3 separate regions of the Homo sapiens genome follow, and all the other regions are linked to region 2. The links are contacts of gene promoters, found by promoter capture Hi-C in human tissues and cell types (Jung and others, 2019). All regions are on one chromosome and are shown on one strand. The core of a region is centred on a gene start or on the middle of the fragment in contact, and the rest is flanking DNA. Distances in the headings are between cores, read along the strand shown. Region 1 holds the start of ZBTB4 (zinc finger and BTB domain containing 4). Region 2 holds the start of ALOX12B (arachidonate 12-lipoxygenase, 12R type). Region 3 holds the start of MYH10 (myosin heavy chain 10).

Region 1 (4,519 bases), core at 1,679-4,178, 610 kb before region 2:
CAACCTTTTGTGCTCCTATGGCCAGCATCCACCTTACACAGCAGCAGAGACTCAGGTTCTCATGCCCTCAGCTGGGGATCCCTGAGCATCCGGGTCTTCTGAAATGGACTGCTGCAAATGCTAAGTTCTGCAGCAACTGGGGAGAAGAGTGTTGGAGGGAGTTGCACAGAAAGGACCATCCACTGAATGTTCCAGAAGGCAGCAGAGTACAGTAGTTAAGAGCACAAGATCTTCAACCTGATTGCCCGGGTTCAAATACAGCTTCACCTCTTACTAGCTAAGTGACTTGGGGCAGATTACTTAACTTCTCTGGACCTCAGCTGCCTCACTTGAAAAAGGGAGGTAGAGTGCCTACTTCAGGGTGTTGTTCTGAGGACAGAGTGGCCACATATAAGTGCCCTGAGGACAGGCTGGTGCACGGTCAGTGCTAAGCAAGTGTGTGCTGCCATTATTATCAGCGAAGCCCCAAGAAGGGAATTCCCAGTCCTGGGGGAGGGCTGACAGGGGCTGGCATAGGCACAGCCCCCAGACTATAGCCACTTTCCGGGTCCGTTTCCCATGTGCTTTTGGAAGATACGCAGGGCAGACAATCAGCCCCATTCTGCAGATGAGGAACTGAGCTTCCTTCAGATCAAGTGCCAGTGAGGGAATGGTAAAGACGCCAGAGCTCCTCAGCCCTGGACCATGGCTCCTTTCTCTTCACCAGACCGTCACTGTGCACCTGTTGAGCAGGCTCCCACGGCAGCCACCCCTTCCCAGCCCCCCATGCCGGAGGGCCTGTCCGCAGCACCCTCCCTTCCCCCACGTACACACATCCTTCCAGTGGGGCCGGGCACAGTAGACAGTGGTGTGCAGGCTTGGAATGCACTTGCACACACACCCCTAGAAGGGCCCAGTCCCCAAAGGTGAGGAAAACCTGTTCTGAGGAATCTGCCTAGTGAGCGAATTCTGTTCTGAGGCCCTTCCACCGTCGCAGGAGTGGGGCCCAGTGTGCGTCAGAGATACCCACAAGGGGGGCAGAGAGAGGGAGAGGGTGAAGCAGGAGGAGGCTGAAAACTTCACGTTTCTTTTTTCCATTTTAGTGACAAGAGTCACACCCAGCCTTTACATAAACATGGCCAAGGAGCCTCTCTGTCTAAGCTTACTTCCCTTGTGGCCGCCCAGCCTCTCCTCCGGGTGACCCTGACACGCTGGGCAGGCTCATGAGGGGCAAACATACAGACCCTGCAAAGATTAGCTGGGCCATCTGACAACACCCATGCCTCCCGCCGGCCTCCATGCGCTACCCTGCATTTATCTCCCGCCTTCCTCATACCAAATCCCCTCCGCAGCCCCACCGCCACTTAAGCACACAGACGGCAGGCACGCACACACAGCCTGCTTGCGGCTGGCCTCTTGGGTCTGAGGCCCACACTGCCCTTGTCACGCCACCTCCCTCCCCACATGTGTTTTCTGACCAGTTTGCCTCCCAGCTCAGCAGCCCAGACAGGCTCCTACAAACAACGTCACAAAAGAATCCTGTGGAGAATGTTGCAAACACACAACCTTCCCCTCGCTTGGCTGCCCATGATCCCATAAACACAACTGGCGCATTCCACCTCGAGCCCCTCACACCAGTGCCAACTGACCCACAGGCCCCTGAGACATACCCCGGGGTTCCTCGCTCCTCTCATGATCTTTGGGATCTGAGTTCTAGACGCGCAGCCCCCATGCAACGCGCTCATCACAGACACGCAAACCCATCCATCGCCCTCTTCACCACTGGACCACACCTCAGCAGGGCCACAGAAATGGGACCCAGACGTGACGCCTTCTGACTCAAAGGCCCACAACCGCCCCCTCCAAAAGGGCACATACACTGCATCCTGGCACCCTCCGCAACACATACAGCATGCCAGCTCTGCAGAAAACAGTTCATAAACAGGTCATAGGTGCAGCACAAGACACACATGCGAGAAAACACATGCTGTAGAAAACATACAGCCCCACATCGAACAAACTCTGCACCCAGCATGCTGTGCCCTGCTCAGAATACCCATCTGTCACCCAAAGCCACAGGGCTCGTCTTGTAACTCTGCCCCACAACACTGGACACCCTTCCTGGCTTTCTATCTCCATGGCCCAGGGAGGGCCCTACCCAGACCCCTGGCTGCCAGCAAACGGTGGTGCCCAGGAGAGGTTTACCTTGCCCCACCACACAGCACAAGACACACGATCTCCAAGACTCACAGCCACAACCCTGCCCCGACGGCGCGGCGGTTCCGGGGCCCCAGCTCGCCCTGCGCACCCCGCACACCCCAACTCTGGGGCGCTCGGCGGCCCACCCCTCCCCCTCTCTGCCTGGCTCCTACGCCATCACCCTCCCAGCAGCTTGCAGCGCTTGCCCGGGCTCACACCCGCCCCACCCCACCCCCAATCTGCCCCACGGGGGGAGGGGGCCATTAGGCTGCAGAATTAACCCTTCAAAGAGGGAGTGAGCACCTCCCCTTCCACGGCCCCAGGCGATCGCGTCCCACGGCCGCCCCTCGCTCGGACGCCATACCAGGGCCCCCTTAGTCGCCCCCCAGCGTCGTGCGCGCCCGGGGGCGGGGCCAGGCTCAGCCCCCGACCCCTGCGCCCCCAGGTCAACCCCAAAGGAGAGCGGTCTGGGCGCGGGGCGCGGTCGGGGCTCCCGCAGCGCCGGGCAGCGGAGAGGGGGCCTGGCAGTTGGCTCCGGTCCGCCCTGGCCCTGCCCAGTTCGCCCCAGGGCCCACCTGACTGCGATGGCGCCGCGTCCGCCAGGCCCGGCTCATCACCGTGGCCGCCCCCGGCCGCTCCGGTTTTGCCCGCCTCCAGCTCCGGCTCCGGCTCCAGCTCCGGCCCTGGCCCCCCCAGCGCCTGGCCCCGGCCCGGCCCCGCTGCCGCCGCCGCCGCCGCCGCTGACATCATCGGCTCCCCCCGCCCCGGTCCTACCCCCACCCCCACCCCCGGAAACAGTCCCCCCCCAGCGCCGCCGCCGCCGCCGCCGAGAGGAGGCCGGCGCAGCGCAGCCGACACCGACACAAAGCTCCGAGCGCCCGACGGCCTTCCCCAGGACTGACCCCCGCGGCATGACACTGCGCCGCGCTGGGCCACCGGGCGGGTGGACACCGAGCGGGGCGCGGGCCGGGCTGCAGCATCCCGGCAGGGGCGCAAGACCACCGACCCCCAGGGAAAGGGCTCCCTCCGCCCTTCCTCCTGCACGCCCTTCACTCAGCGGTGCACACTGCCTGAAAGCATAACACACAGGCTCTCAGGGTGCAGACATGACATGGCAGACTCATAATCAGGCCCGGTGGGACTCACAGACCCAGGGTCGGCACACTCAAAGAGGGCCAGCCCTGGACACACACACACACCCTCTCCAGGAATGCGCAGGAAAGCTCAGCAGGCCGCGGAAAAAGAAGGCCCTGGCCCTGCATACGGGGCACACACGAACGACCACCAGCGCAAATGAACACATGAAGCTGGCTGGGTACTTTGTCCCCACCAGCAGATAGATCCACATCTGTATACTTGAACATAAATGCAGAGGCCTTGGTGTCGGCCTCTGGGGACAGCATCAACAAAACACCAGGTGGAAGCACACACAGAAAAAACACATTCCTGAAACTCCACAGGGACAATCCCAAGAACTCCTCCCTGGTGCTGGAAAATTAAAAACTAAGGAGATGGAGGAGCCAGGGTTCACAGCTCCTTGCCTTAAAACCTCTCTGAGGCTGGGCGCGGTGGCTCACGCCTGTAATCCCAGCACTTTGGGAGGCCGAGGTGGGCGGATCACGAGGTCAGGAGATCGAGACCATCCTGGCTAACACGGTGAAACCCTGTCTCTACTAAAAATACAAAAAAATTAGCCGGGCGTGGTGGCGGGCGCCTGTGGTCCCAGCTACTCGGGAGGCTGAGGCAGGAGAATGGCGTGAACCTGGGAGGCGGAGCTTGCAGTGAGCCGAGATCTCGCCACTGCACTCCAGCCTGGGCGACAGAGACAGACTCCGTCTCAAAAAAAAAACAACAACAAAAAAACCTCTCTGAAACCATGCAAGATATAAATAAACAAATTAATGTAAAGCCACAGAGCTAGCCATAAAAAGAATAAAAGAATCAGACAAACTTTGGAGTCATGGAGACATAAATAGAAAAGAAGCAGAGTTGGGCTGGGCACGGTGGCTCATGCCTGTAATTCCACCACTTTGGGAGGCGGGGGGTGGTGGGGTGGATCACTTGAGGTAAGGAGTTCAAGACCAGCATGGCCAACATGGAGAAACCCCATCTCTACGAAAAATAAAAAATTAGCGGGGTGTGGTGGCACATGCCTGTAATCCCAGGTACTTGGGAGGATGAGGTAGGAGAATTGCTTGAACCCAGGAGGTGGAGGTTGCGGTGAGCCGAGATTGCACGCACCACTGCACTCCAGCCTGGGCAAGAAGAGCAAAACTCCGTCCCAAAAAAAAAAAAAAAAATTAGCCAGGTGTAGTGGCACATTCTTGTAATCCCAGCTACT
Region 2 (4,513 bases), core at 22-2,521:
GCCCCTCCTTCTCTCCATCCCCAGCTCCTGTCTTCTCCCACTCCCCTCTCCAGGCACCTGAGGTTGCAGGAACCCTTCAGACCCCTGGGGACTTGGGTACCACTCTACAGTTTTCGAGTGGGGAGAGGCCCAGCCAGCCCCTTCTCCCATTCATCAATGAAGATGCAGATATTCAGAATGGCCACATAGATAGAGTGACCTATTAAGGTCGCCTAGCAGCAGGTGGCTGGGTCTGACTGAAAATCAGGTCTGAGGACCCGCAAAGCGTGCCTTCCACTGGACAGGCTGGTCTGATGCCATTTTAAGTCACAGAGAATCCAGTGCAAATGTGAGACAGTTAGGAGGCAGCTGAATTAGGAAGAGTGACTGAGAATGGAAGAGAGAGGGATGCGGGAGAGGGGGTAAGACAGAAAGGGGAGGAGAGCAAAGGGGAAGGAAAGCAGGTGGAAAGGATTGAGAAAAGAGAGATGCAGGATAGGCAGAGACAGGGAGAGAGGGCTGAGGAAGAGGGAGAGAGAAGAAAAGGATGGGGAGGGAGATGAGGAATGCCTGAAAGGGTTAGAGATGAAGGAGCAGGATGGAGAAGGATGGCCCAGAGATCTGGGACATGGGCGAGGGGCTGGAAGCCAGCTCTGGACAAGGCGTGTAGAGCCACTGGGGAGCCCACTGCCTTCGGAGCTGTGCCTCAGCTCTCCAGCCTCTCCTCGCCAAGCTCAGCTCACCTGGCTCCCCCTGCGCACCTTCACCCCTCCCGGGGCCACAAAGACACACAGACACACACAGACACACACAGACACACACACACACACACACAGACACACACACACACACACACACACACACACTCTTACCGCCCCAGTTGCAAAGTCTCTCCCAAAGTGGTTCAGCAGCTGCTTATGGCTCTCTCCTTGTGTCCCCACAATGGTCAGTGAGATGGAGTCCCGTGTTCCCGACAAGAGGTCGGTGCCTGTGGCCACCCTGACTTTGTAGGTGGCCATGGCTGCTCTTCAGGAGGCAAGAGGGGCACTCAGTCCCAGACACCGTGGAGGGGCCACACGAAGGCCCAAGGCAGGCAAGAGAAGCCAGGCACAGAGTGGAGTGGACAGGGCTGGCCTCCGAGGTGCAGTGGTGAGGTGGCGAGGTGGGGTGACTAGGCCTGCCAGCCAAATTCTGGAAAAGCTGCTGCCCTTGGTGGCCGGGGTGGGTGCCGGGCAGGCCCAGGCGGAGCCCAGCTGGTGGTGAGTGAGCAGGTGTCTGGGCTCCAAGCCTTCTGGGAGCTGGTGGGGAGGAAGAGCAGGCAGGGCACTGGGCCTGCCTCTGAAAGGGCGGATAGAAGATGCCGTGGATGAAGGCGCCTTCAGGGTGGGGGAGCCAGTCCAGCCTGAGCCAGGGCCCTAGGGAAGTTGCGGGAGGGGGCAGGGTGTGGTCCCCAGATCTTTATCAGACTAATAAGCTCCTTCCTCCTGCCAGTCCCCATTGGCTACAGTGCCAGGCACCCCTACTAAGCAGGGCCATGGGCAGTGAGTGACTTGCATTGGTTCTGAGGCCACTGGTGGGCGGGGGAGGGGAGGGGGAGGGGCACTAAGTGGCAGCGCAGCTGGCCAGCCTCCAGGCCATTCCTCTCTGGGAAATGGGACAGGTAGTGGCCACAGTGAGAAAGCTGGCCTGTCCTTCTGCCCCAGGGCCCAGAGTCTGTGACTGGAAGGGTGGGAGGTGTTGAAGCTAGGGCTCGGGGACCACATGGGTGCCCAAAGGCCTGAAGATGCTGCGGGGAGGAACGATCAGGGTAGGAGAAGGGGATCTGTTGCTTCCTGTGGGGCCAGGATCCACTGGTGAGGGATTGGAGTTGGATATAAAATCAGAAGCCCAAAAAAAAAAAAAAAAAAACTAAATTAGAAGACAGAGTGAAATCTGGGGCATAAGAATTAAGTTAAATAGCTGGGCGTGGTGGCTCACGCCTGTAATCCCAGCACTTTAGAAAGCCAAGGCAGGTGGGTCACCTGAGCTCAAGAGTTCGAGACCAGCCTGGCCAACATGGTGAAACCTTGTCTCTACTAAAAATACAAAAATTAGCCAGGCGTGGTGGCATGCGCCTGTAGTCCCAGCTACTTGGGAGGCTGAGGCAGGAGAATCGCTTGAACTCAGGAGGCGGAAGTTGCAGTGAGTTGAGATCGTGCCACCGCACTCCAGCCTGGGCAACAGAGCAAGACTCCGTCTCCAAAAAAAAAAGACAAAAGAATTAAGTTAAATAATGGATTAATATGATCAATATTTTGTGGTATAATCATAAAATAGAATTCTACCCAGGAATAAAAAGAATGAACTGCAATGCGGATGAGTCTCACAAAGATGATACTGAGCAAAAAGAGCCAGACATTAAAGGGGATACGTTCTGTTATCCATTGATAGGAACTTCCAGAACCAGCAAAACTGAGCAATTCTCAGACAACCTCTACTGGTGAGTATCCCTGGCAGAGGGAGGCCATATAGGCTGCTGGAGGTGTTCTTATCTTGATCTGAGGGGCGTCTAGGGTACTTCATTCATTTCATTATGTGTTATCCTTTAATTTCATAAAGTACATACCCTCACTTCCCTCCCAAAAAAGAATGAAGCTAGGAAGAGGGCTGGAGGCAGGGCTGAGCTCCAGTGGAACTGTGTTTGTTGGGAACCAGGTCGTTCCTCCCTCAGATATGTAGTGAGCACGGTGCACGGCGTTCTAGGCACTGCAGAGGCAGAGAAGAAATGAAACATACATGGAGCTTACGGAATAGCTGGGAAAGAAGTGAAAGAAACAGTAAACAAGAATTTGTTCACTATAATTTTGGATACTAAGTGCTCTGAAGAAAATAAGCGTGGGAGGTTGGGATTGGGAACTAGTTGCTGATAGAATCACAGAAGTCAGAGCCGCAGGATAGGGAGAAGGTGTTAGGAGTAAGGTGAAGAGCATTATGAGAGAGTCAGAGATAGACTCTCCAAAGATAGGATTTGGGACCCAGGGAGAGTGAGGAGGCAGGCACGTTCCTATTCCCTTTTTCTGGACCTGTCCTCTTTCCTTTCACCTCCGAGGAGCAGCTTCTGTCAACCAGGAAGCATAGCCCTGCTTTCCTCCCTGATGGCACGCTTCCATCACCATCGAAGGAAGGTCATTCAATGCCCAGGCCAAGTTAGGGTCAGAGGGGGCTGGGATTGTGAGATGAAGAGAAGGTTCCAGTAGGTTCCAGACTGGATGTGGAATGGGGTCGAAACTGCAATTCAGGTTTAGGTTAGAGACACAGATGTGGCTGGAGTTGGGGATTGAAATGATCTTTTCCAGACCCAAATCTGTTCACATCACTCTCTATGTTCCCTCCTCCCAACCCTGATCAAGCCTGGCAGTGGCTCCTCTTTACCTTTGGGACAGTGACACCATCCCCTCCCGTGGCCCCCACGGCCTGCCTGATTGGCTTCACCCCTCACATTCCCCTTTGCTCTCTTCTGTCTGGGACCACGTGCCTTTCATTCATTCATCAACAGACACTGGCCGAACCCCTACTGTGTGTTCAGCGCTGTGTCAGGTCCTGAAAATACAATGCGATCAAAGCAAACCCCTGCACCCATGGAGCTTGCCTTCAAGTGAGGGAAGCAGACAATATTACCTAGTAACCAAATACATTAAATAGTATGTTAAATAGTGATAAGTGCTGAAGAGAAAAGAGAGAACAGGGAAGGATAATATAAAAAATAGAGGAGTGCCGGGCATGGTGGCTCATGCCTGTAATCCCAGCACTTTGGGAGGCTGAGGTGGGCGGATCACCTGAGGTCAGGAGTTCGGGACCAGCCTGACCAACATGGAGTAACCCCGTCTCTACTAAAAATAAAAATTAGCCGGGCATGGTGGCGCATGCCTGTAATCCCAGCTACTCGGGGGCTGAGGCAGGAGAATAGCTTGAACCCAGGAAGCAGAGGTTGCAGTGAGCCAAGGTCATGCCATTGCTATCAAGCCTGGGCAACAAAAGCGAAAATCCATCTCAGAAAAAAGAAAAGGAGGATATTTTAGATACAGAGTGGCCAAGGAGGGCTCCTTGGGAAGAAGACTTTTGAGTAAAGACCTGAAGGAAGTGAAGTCAGCTCGTCACCATCCCAGGGCCTTGGCACATGCTGTTCCCTCTCTACCTCTCAAACTGAGGTCACGTTTCCTCTTCCTCCTGATCTTAGCTCAATAATTGCTTTTTCCAGGAAAGCCAAATTTCACTATACATGGCTCTCACAGCACTATAGCTAACATCTTTGATTGATGTCTGTTTTCTCTAATAAATTAGTCCATACTTTTTTTTGGTTTTGTCCCCATCTCCTGGTGTCATACTTGGTACCTGGGAGACACCGAAAACATAGTTGAATGGGTTAATGACAAGGACAAGGTCAGGGCTGGGGATTGAATCGATGATGGCTTTGGAGTTATGGTGAAGATCCGAAGAGAGCTGACTTGGGCTCAGGGTGAGAGAAGGGGCAAGGCGTGGTGTAGGGGAGGGAAAG
Region 3 (4,364 bases), core at 1,505-4,004, 540 kb after region 2:
CAGAGTACACACTACAATGATGGAAGGTGACATGGAGGAAATTTTGAAGGGTGTGTAGTGTACAATGCTATATACTACCTTTCTACTAAATAAAAACCCAATCAATTACGGCTTAAAAAGTATAGGCTTAACCAATGAATCATCTGGCAAAGGTTTTATATATTTTATAGAAAAAGATACCCATAACTTAGGGGAAATAAAGACAAACAGGAATCTTTTTGTTAGCGAACATAAAGATGGTCTGAGGGTTATTAGTGTCATTTTAAATTGCTGCCTAATTACAATTAAATCATTTATCTGTGTATGAATTAGCCCCCTACAGAGCCAAAGTTGCCATCCCTTTCAGTGGTTTGACACACACACCCCTGGGGCTCCACCCCCAGGTCATTTTTCACTTCCAATGAAATGTCACCCAGCAAACTTTTCAAATCCCTCCCAGCACCTACTATGAGTGTGGACAGAGGCAAACAATTCAATTTTATGAACGGCCTGCACATAGAAAGGCAAACAAGAAGGATGGATAAATTATCCATGACAGAGCATCCATCTATAACAGATGAGCTAAAACAGAACTGTCCCAATTTGGGTACTGCTACCATTGAGGTCACTTACATGACAGGGCTGGACGAGTCTGCTAATTTATCAAAATCCTGCTCAACCCAATGATCACAAACACAAACCAAACACAAAAGGCCACTATTGCTACTTATGGCCTGCCCCATCTCCCAATTAATATCTCTATACTGTGTTTAATATTTCCAAAACTAGGATCCAACACCAGGAACTTTAATTCCTCACATGTGATAAAGTGCATAAACCGCTGAAGCATATAGTCTTCCACCCTACAACGTGCCCTTCAAGATTTCCTCCATCTCACCTTCCATCTCAGCTGCCTTCGTTATAATGATTTCCCTATGGAGCCCAAATGAAAAGCCAGGCTCGCAGGGGTCACATCCTTCTGCTGCCAAAGCTCGTGCTATATCGCACAATTACACCATATGCTTTCTCCAGATAAGGACGGGGAAGAACTGAATTTAAGATGCAGAAGTAAGGAGATGCATAAAATGGCCACTTTTCCAGAACCCGAGACAGGCAGGGCATACTTAAACATCAAAAGCAAGGGACTCAAAGAATAATTAATAAAGGCAGATTGATGAAGGAGATAAAACAATAAATAGATTATAAAGTTTTCCAGAGTGAGATACTATCAAGAATAATTAAACCTGACTCAAAGAATCCTCAGTTTCAACGTTAAAAAACAAAATCTCAGCAAAGCCAAAGTATTATGTTTGGTATTACATTATTCAGCGAAAACAGCAGTCTTTGTTTCATCTGCAGTCTGCATCTACCCCGCCTGCTTTCCCCTACCCCACCCCAGCCCACCCCACCCCCTTCCATCCACCGCAGTGATCTTGAAGGGAGCTGCAGAGGCCCTAAAGAAACAGAGATAACGGCTGTAGGCAGAGGCCACGTTATCCAAACCTCACCAGCCCGGTCTGACCCGCCGAGTCGCCAACCTCCTTCCTAAGGCCCTAGTTCCAAACAGGCCTGGCTGGGGGCCTCCCGCTTCCCAGGGCCGCATCCGCCCACCACAGGCCCACAAAGCCCCCACAAATGCCAGGACTCCGCGGCTTCAACTTCCCTCCGAACCAATTCCAGTCCGATTTTATGGGATCAGGGTGTGACCCCCAACTGCAGAAGGCAATGAAGAGACTGCGGCGAGCCATTCCCAGCTCGCTTACACAATAAAGGGATCCCGAGGCGAGTGCTGACCCTCCCCCCGGCCGTCCTGCTGCAGCGCGCCCCGCCACATTTCCCGCCTCGCCCCCTCAAACCGCCTGGGCCTCGCAGGGCGTCCACCCCCGGCCTAGGCGCTCCACGGAGGGCGCGGCAGGACGCCCTCCTCCCGCGCTCCTTCCCCGGCGCCGGCGGAGTCCGACCCTCCCCACGCCCGCGGCCGGCTCCGGAGCCCCTCACCCGCCGCGCGCTTCCCCGGCCGCGCAGAGCCAATGCCCTCCTGTCCCTCCACCCACGGGTCGGGCGCGCGCCGCCCGCCTTCCAAGCCCATGGTGAACCCCTCTGGTGCTGCGGGGGACCGGTCGCGCCAGGCCTAACCCACCCAGCAACCCACGCAGGGGCCCTTCCTGCCCAGCGCCCCCCCACCCTACCGCCGGGACTGCGCTTTCCAGCCCCGCTTAGAATCCCCTCTCTTCCTGGGAGGCAGACACTGGCTCGCGGGGCACGCCGAGACCTCCGCCGGGACACTAGCCCCTCGACCTCGCGCCCCCAGGGATCCCACCCACCGAGAACCTGGTCCTCACGTCCCCACCCCCAGATCTCCATCCCCCAGCCCCCCAGGGGTCGCCCTCCTGCACACCCAGGCCCTGACCCCCGCGGGTTTCACAAGGACTTCATTCCCCGCTCCTCCGGGAGTCTCTCCATCTCCACCCACTGAGGTCCCAGTGCCCCCAGCCCAGGACCCTGCTCAAACTAACCTAAGGTCCCCGCAGCACAAACCCTACAGCTCAGAAGCCCCTCTGTCTTCCCCAGCTCCCGCTTCGGTCCCCCGTTCCTGTCCTCCAGAGCCGCCCGGGACCCCTCAGCCCAGGAGCCATTCCTCCCTCCACAAACTGTCCCCCAGCCCTGGGCCGTGCACTCGGACCCGGGTAGCCGCACCTCTCACCTTCAGCCGAAGATGGTGGCGCGGGCGCACGTCCCCAGCCGCGACCACAGATCCAGCGCCTCAGTCCCAAACCCACCGCTGCCTCCGCCGGGCTCCTTTAGCACTGCTGCTCGGGGCTGCCCCACCCACCCCTACCCTCATTGGGCCAGCTCCACGCCCATCACCGCCGCCCCCAGACCCACTGGTTGGTTTGCGCGCCCATCTCCAAGGGAAGACGTTAGCAACCCGAACGAAGCTACCTTCCCGAGTCCGGCTCCCTCCACCCACCTGGAATGACGCTCATTGGCTCCCGCTCCCAGCCCAGGCCACAGAGGCCCCAATCTCATGGGCTGGCTCTTACGCCCGTCATAGGCTCCGGGAGGTGCGGCCGGGGCAGTGGCGCGGGATTGGCTGGCTCGTGCGTAGATGGACAGCTGAGGCTGGCTGAACGCCCGGCGATCCCGCGAGGCTGCGGGTGCGGGCCCCGCGGCGGCCGGCGCGCTGCGCTGACATTGGCTGTGCGGGCCGCGGGGCAGGTGGGCCGCGGCAGGAGGCTGGCGCTCTGACTGCAGACTCCTCGTCCTAGCGTCAGGCAGCCGCCGCAGCCGCAGCACATTCGAGCGCCCGGTCGCCCCCTGTGCTTGCGGCAGCCGGCATGTACCGCAGCGGGACGGGGTTCCACCGCGGAGTCGCGGGCCCTCAGCGTTGCCTGCAGGGGCGGGGCGGAGCGCGGTCCAGAGTCCTGACGTCACCCCCGGGGCTGCGCGGGGTTGGGGCCGCGGCGCTGCGACTCACCTGCAGTGGGGGAAGGAACGCGGGGGAGGGCGCTGCTCCGCCCATGCGCACAGGGTTTGGCCCGGGACCCGGCTGCGCTCCACGCTGCGGCCACTGTCCCGACCCCGGCCCCAGGCGGACTCTGCCGGGATCGGCCGAGCGCCAGGCGCAGGACACGGTCCTCCAAGGTCGCAGTTTTGGTGTTAGCGGGGTGAGAGGCTCTCCTGCCCAGCCTCCAGGCAAGGCTGAGATTCCAGAAGAATGAGAAGAGAACCGACCTTGGAGAGAAAACTTGGAAGAAACTTTATTCACCTCATTCATTCACTCGTTCAGTCGCTCCTTCATTCATTCATCAGAGCTCCCTACGTGAAGGGCTATGAGAGGTTCTTAAGAATATAAGGCTGGATTCCTGTAGCGCTGTCATATCCCCTAGGGCTTATGAAAACGTTGGAGACTGAAAAACAGTGGCCCCAAAATAACGAAAGGAAACTGGAAAAATCAAAGTAAATAAAATTTAATGAAATGTCTGCAGAATCTAGGCAACTGCAACAAAACTCTTGCATAATTATATATAAATATAATAAAGTCTAAATCACATGAACAAAATGAATTATTCATACAAAACCTGAAAGTCAAGATCATAAAAATTCACAGCAAGATGCAGTTATTAATCAGTTATTAATGTAGGCTATGGGAGCATTTTAATACATGTGATAATGATGTGTTTGCCTAAGCCTAGGAAACGTCTAGTCTGGCAAAAAGTGAATTAAGCAAAAAACAAGGCAGGAAGTCCTAAGGAAGGGTTGGTGGAATTCAGAAGAGGCTGGAAGGCAGCTGAGTGCAGAGTCCTTCCTGGGGAAGTCCGAACCAGGCTCTGTTTTGTCCTTTGTCCTGCTGCATCTGGTCCCCCACCCCCACCTGCCTGCTG

The links. The method cuts DNA at HindIII sites, captures the fragments that hold promoters and counts their contacts. A contact is called where the count stands out against the background at its distance.
Region 1: a contact is called between the fragment with the promoter of ZBTB4 here and the fragment with the promoter of ALOX12B in region 2, in 1 of the 25 tissues and cell types used here (small bowel).
Region 3: a contact is called between the fragment with the promoter of MYH10 here and the fragment with the promoter of ALOX12B in region 2, in 1 of the 25 tissues and cell types used here (stomach).

The regions. Positions count from the first base shown.
Region 1 is chr17:7,476,703-7,481,221 of GRCh38, forward strand. It overlaps ZBTB4 (zinc finger and BTB domain containing 4), which reads right to left and starts at 2,929. Exons shown (of 4, transcript NM_001128833.2): 1 at 2,754-2,929. RefSeq lists silencers at 2,236-2,285, 2,546-3,005, 3,026-3,285. The HindIII fragment of the contact is 10,425 bases long and covers 518-4,519 here.
Region 2 is chr17:8,086,445-8,090,957 of GRCh38, forward strand. ALOX12B (arachidonate 12-lipoxygenase, 12R type) reads right to left here and starts at 1,272. Exons shown (of 15, transcript NM_001139.3): 1 at 852-1,272. The coding sequence starts at 998. MIR4314 (microRNA 4314) reads left to right here and starts at 1,612; the gene lies at 1,612-1,703. RefSeq lists an enhancer at 300-1,048. The HindIII fragment of the contact is 32,393 bases long and covers 1-4,513 here.
Region 3 is chr17:8,627,971-8,632,334 of GRCh38, forward strand. MYH10 (myosin heavy chain 10) reads right to left here and starts at 2,755. Exons shown (of 43, transcript NM_001256012.3): 1 at 2,684-2,755. RefSeq lists enhancers at 1,128-1,906, 1,907-2,684, 2,685-3,462, 4,161-4,364 and a silencer at 2,947-3,626. The HindIII fragment of the contact is 16,199 bases long and covers 1-4,364 here.